2 separate regions of the Homo sapiens genome follow, and region 1 is linked to region 2. The links are contacts of gene promoters, found by promoter capture Hi-C in human tissues and cell types (Jung and others, 2019). All regions are on one chromosome and are shown on one strand. The core of a region is centred on a gene start or on the middle of the fragment in contact, and the rest is flanking DNA. Distances in the headings are between cores, read along the strand shown. Region 1 has its middle 23 kb from the start of NT5C2. Region 2 holds the start of AS3MT (arsenite methyltransferase).

What was found. The method cuts DNA at HindIII sites, captures the fragments that hold promoters and counts their contacts. A contact is called where the count stands out against the background at its distance.
Region 1: a fragment that was not itself captured here is called in contact with the fragment with the promoter of AS3MT in region 2 in 1 of the 25 tissues and cell types used here (mesenchymal stem cells).

What each region holds. Positions count from the first base shown.
Region 1 is chr10:103,214,660-103,217,359 of GRCh38, forward strand. It overlaps the pseudogene ST13P13. Among named protein-coding and RNA genes, the nearest start is that of NT5C2, 23 kb to the left of the region's middle. The HindIII fragment of the contact is 6,509 bases long and covers 1-2,700 here.
Region 2 is chr10:102,868,190-102,870,889 of GRCh38, forward strand. AS3MT (arsenite methyltransferase) reads left to right here and starts at 1,281. Exons shown (of 11, transcript NM_020682.4): 1 at 1,281-1,404; 2 at 1,616-1,656; 3 at 1,895-2,022. The coding sequence starts at 1,404. It overlaps BORCS7-ASMT (BORCS7-ASMT readthrough (NMD candidate)), which reads left to right. Exons shown (of 15, transcript NR_037644.1): 6 at 1,616-1,656; 7 at 1,895-2,022. It also overlaps the pseudogene LOC124902567. The HindIII fragment of the contact is 5,936 bases long and covers 1-2,700 here.

The DNA of each region.
Region 1 (2,700 bases), core at 72-2,571, 350 kb after region 2:
TTGAGACGGAGTCTCGCTCTGTTGCCCAGGCTGGAGTGCAGTGGCGGGATCTCGGCTCACTGCAAGCTCCACCTCCCGGGTTCACGCCATTCTCCTGCCTCAGCCTCCCAAGTAGCTGGGACTACAGGCGCCCGCCACTACGCCCGGCTAATTTTTTGTATTTTTAGAAGAGACAGGGTTTCACCGTGTCAGCCAGGATGGTCTCGATCTCCTGACCTCGTGATCTGCCTGCCTCAGCCTCCCAAAGTGCTGGGATTACAGGCGTGAGCCACCGCGCCCGCCCATACTACCCTTTCTTTAGTGGTGGTCCAGAAAAAGCCCTCTGTTTCATTCTATTAGTTTTCCAGGAGACTTGCCTTTGGACCATATAACCTGGTTGAGGAAACCTGCAGGATTTAAAAAAAAAATTGTATCTTGATAAGCGAAATTCATGTACTGTTTTGGGTTCTTCAATGTTGCCATTTTCTCTTTTTCTTAAAATGAAGAATAATATTGTTGATGAAAAAAGCCAAATTCAGGCCAGGCCTGGTGGCTCATGCCTGTAATCCCAGCACTTTTGGAGGCTGAGGTGGGTGGATCACATGAAGTCAGGAGTTCAAGACCATCCTGGCCAATATGGTGAAACCCTGTCTCTACTAAAAATACAAAAATTAGCTGGATATGGTGGTACGCACCTGTAATCCCAGCTACTCGAGAGTGCCATTGCACTTCAGCCTGGCTGACAGAGCGAGACTCTGTCTCAAAGGAAAAACAAAACAAAACAAAACAAAAAAACTAAACTCCATAAAATATTTGAAGAGATTTATTCTGAGCCAAATGTGAGGACCATGACCCATGACACAGCCTCAGGAGGTCCTGAGAACATGTGCCCCAGGTGGTTGGGTTGCAGCTTGATTTTATTTATTTTAGGAGATCAGAAATTACAGGTAGACATCAGTCAGTACATTTAGATATACATTGGTTTGGCCCTTCTGCGTGGTCACACCAAGCCAGCATCTGGGCCTGGAACTGGGCTGCAGCCCCTCAGCTTCGCATACTGCCTCCTGACCATGGACCCCTGCAAAGTGAACGAGTTTTGGGCCTTTGTGAAAATTTGTAAGCAGGATCTGAGCATTCCGCACACCGAGGAAATGAGATTCCTGAGGGAGTGGGTGGAGAGCACAGGGGTAAAGTACCACCTACTACTCAGAAAGCTAAATCAGAAGAAAATACCAAAGAAGAAAAACTTGATAGTAGGAAGGTAGAGGAAGACTTAAAGGCAGACAAAACATCAAGTAAGGAAAGTGAGCTAGAAATTGATAATTAAGGTGTGATTGAACCAGACACTGATGTCCCTCAAGAAATGGGATAACAGAGGTGATGATGGATCAGGCAAATGATAAGAAAGTGGCTGCTATTGAAGCCCTAAATGATGGTGAACTGCGGAAATCCATTGATTTATTCACAGATGCCATCAAGCTGAATCCTTGCTTGGCTATTTTGTATGCTAAGAGGGCCAGTGTCTTCATCAAATTACAGAAGCCAAATGCTGCCATCCGAGACTGTGACAGAGCCATTGAAATAAATCCTGATTCAGCTCAGCCTTACAAGTGATGAGAGAAAGCACACAGACTTCTAGGCCACTGGGAAGAAGCAGCCCATGATCTTGCCCTTGCCTGTAAATTGGATTATGATGAAGATGCTAGTGTAATGCTGAAAGAAGTTCAACCTAGGGCACAGAAAATTGCAGAACATCAGAGAAAGTATGAGCGAAAACGTGAAGAGCAAGAGATCAAAGAAAGCATAGAAAAGTTAAGAAGGCTTGAGAAGAACATGAGAGAGCCCAGAGGGAGAAAGAAGCCAGACAACAGTCAGGAGCTCAGTATGGCTCTTTTCCAGGTGGCTTTCCTGGGGGAATGCCTGGTAATTTTCCCTGAGGAATGCCTGGAATGGGAGGGGGCATGCCTGGAACGGCCGGAATGCCTGGACTCAATGAAATTCTTAGTGATCCAGAGGTTCTTGCAGCCATGCAGGATCCAGAAGTTATGGTGGCCTTCCAGGATGTGGCTCAGAACCCAGCAAATATGTCAAAATACCAGAGCAACACAAAGGTTATGAATCTTATCAGTAAATTGTCAGCCAAATTTGGAGGTCAAGATTAATGCCTTTCTGATAAAGCCTTTTCTGAAGGAAAAGCAACCTACATCACCTTATGGATGTTGCAATGATACAAACCAGTGTACCTCTGACCTTCTCATCAAGAGAGCTGGGGTGCTTTGAAGATAATCCCTACCCCTGTCCCCCAAATGTAGCAGAAGCATTTTACAGTGGTTTGCCATTAGGGTATTCATTCAGATAATGTTTTCCTACTAGGGCAAACTTTAAGCACTTTTTAAACCTCAAAAATATTTAAAACAAATTTAAAGGGTCTGTTAATTCTCACAATTTTCTTTACTAATCATTTTGGATTTTTTTTCCTTTGAATTATTGGGCAGCAAAGATACTTATGTATGGAAGATTATTGCTGTAATTTGAGTGAAATAAAAGTTTATTACTGCGAGGCAAACATAACTCATTTGAGGAAAAAGCTTGTGTTGGATATGTGGTTCCTGAAGTACTTTGACTTGTCTTTTTAAATGCTTTATCTTTTTCTTTAAAGATTTATTTCAAGCCGGGCGCGGTGGCTCATGCCTATAATCCCAGCACTTTGGGAGGCCAAGG
Region 2 (2,700 bases), core at 31-2,530:
CAGCTACTGGGGAGGCTGAGGAGGGAGGATGGCTTGAGGCCAGAGTTGAAGGATCCAGAGATGATTGCGCAGTGACGCTAAGCTTGGGCCACAGAGTTGAGACCCTGTCTCTAAAAATTTTTTTTTAATTTAAATTATAAAAAGAGAAATGCTTGTTACAACCACAAAGGGAAACAAGATATACACATATAATTGTGGAAGTAAAAATAAATAATTTAAAAATACTTTTGGGTGCTCGCTTCGGCAGCACATATAGTTGGAATGATAGAGAAGATTTGCATGGCCCCTGCGCAAGATGACATACAAATTCGTGAAGTGTTCCATATTTAAAAAAACAAAAAATACTTTTGGGCCTGGCACTGTGGCTCATGCCTGTAATCCAAACACTTTGGGAGGCTGAGGCGGGCGGATTGCTTGAACCCAGGAGTTGGAGACCAGCCTGGACAACATGGTGAAATCCCGTCTCTATAAAAAAATACAAAAATTAACCAGGTGTGGTGGTGCACGCCTGTAATCCAAGGTACTTGGGAGGCTGAGGCGGGAGGATCGCTTGAGCCAGGAGGTTGGGCCTGGGTAACAGAGACCGTCTCAAAAAAATTTAAAAATTAAAAAAAAAACTTTCTGCAAGATGAAGTGACAATACCTGGAAAATACATGTGACTTGACCAAAAATTACTATAGGTGAAAATAAATTTAGCAAAGTTGCTTTCCTAAATACAACCCAAAATAGACTGGGAACAGCTACATACTGTTAATGGTTCCCTCTATGTGACATTCTAGAAAAGGCAGAACTATAGGGAGGGAAAACATCTGTGGTTGCCCAGGAGCTAGGGGTGGGAAGAGGGAATTTACTACAAAGAGGCACGAAGAAACTTGTGGGCCAGAGCTATTTTGGTCTCCGTTTTGGTGATGTATATACGTTTGCCAGAGTTCACAGAACTGCACACTGAAGAAAGATGGATTTCACGGAATGTGAATTATATCTCAACAAACTTGACTTCAAAAAACAGATCGAGAAAAGATGATTCTATTCCCAAAAAGGGGGAGGGGGGAAGATCATTATATAGGTGAGTGTTCATTTAAATCAGAGTACGAGATTTATCCGTGAAAATCGCAGTGGAGCGAACAAGGGGGATGCTGATACCGACCTCCTGGTTGGAAAGCCTGTAGAGCAGCGCGGATGACAGTGGAACAGCGGGTCAGGCGGTGGGCGCCTGAGCGAGGGGCTAGAGCGGGATGGGCGGGCGGAGCAAGCCTGCCAGCCTGGGCGGGGCCTCGGCACAGGAGCTGGCTGCGGGAGCCCGCCGTCCTGAGTCGCAGGCCGAGGAGACAGTGAGTGCGCGCCCTGAGTCGCAGGCCGAGGAGACAGTGAGTGCGCGCCCTGAGTCGCAGGCCGAGGAGACAGTGAGTGCGCGCCCTGGGCGCCCCGCCCCAGCCCCCAGCCCCTTCCCTGGGCCCCCGCAAGGCGGGAACGCGAGCGCCTCCCCCGAGCTGTGTCTCGAGACCTTTGTCCTCCCCTCACCCCTCGGCCCGCTGCCTGCCCTTTACTGGCCCCCTCCCTCATGCCCGTCCCTCAGCACCCTCTCCTTTCAACTAACTTTCCCGCTCCCGACAGTGGCTGCACTTCGTGACGCTGAGATACAGAAGGACGTGCAGGTGAGAGCTGTAGGGCCTGGAATGGCCCAAGTGGAGCCTAGGCTAATGGAAGTCTGGCCTGGCCCGCACCCTGTCCCCCGGGACTCCTGGAGTCGGGGTAGGGCAGGGTCTAGGCTTCGACCTTTCCAGGGAACTGAGGTCGGCCAAGTGGAGGTGGAGGTGGTGACGGAGCCCTCGCGCTGCAGTCACAGCTCTTCTCCCTCTCTACCCCTCACTCCACTGTGGGACGCTGGGTCAGACCTACTACGGGCAGGTGCTGAAGAGATCGGCAGACCTCCAGACCAACGGCTGTGTCACCACAGCCAGGCCGGTCCCCAAGCACATCCGGGAAGCCTTGCAAAATGTACACGAAGAAGTAGCCCTAAGGTAGAGTGCCCTGTGCTGTCCCCAGGAAGACCCCAAACAGCAGTTTTCCCAAAAGATAATGATGCAGGTCACTAGGGAATTAACCCGTAGCCACCAACCCATCAGCTTGCCTTGTCTATTGTAAAAATCCTAAATCTCAGCACCCATCATCTTACTGCTCTAAGAACCTCCGATGAGTCTGGGCGCGCCAGTGAGCCTGTAGTCCCAAGTGCTTGGGAGGCTGAGGCAGAGGATCGCGTGAGCCCAGAAGTTACAGGCTGTAGTGTGCGATCCGGGATGTGAATAGCCACTGCACTCCAGCTTGGTCAACATAGCCAGATGCATCTCTAAAATAAATGCGTACTTTAAAAAAATTGCCTAAAAAAAAGAACCTCCAGCGTGAACACTCTGTAGTCCCTACCCATGCTCACAGAATACAGTCACACTCACTGGATCTGCCATTCAAGATATGCGCAGTTCAGCACCCACTAATCAACCTTGGCCCTTTTGACCCTTCCCTTCCTCACTCCATCAGCACTGCCTGCCCAGCCGGCAGTCACCAATTTGGAAGGTCTTCCCTTTTCTTTTTCCTTCCCAACCCTGCGCATCCAGCACCACGCTGCTGTCCCACCTACTGCATGGAGCCTTCTCTAATCCTTGAGCGGCCTCTTCCCCAAACTGCCACAGCACTCTGTCACT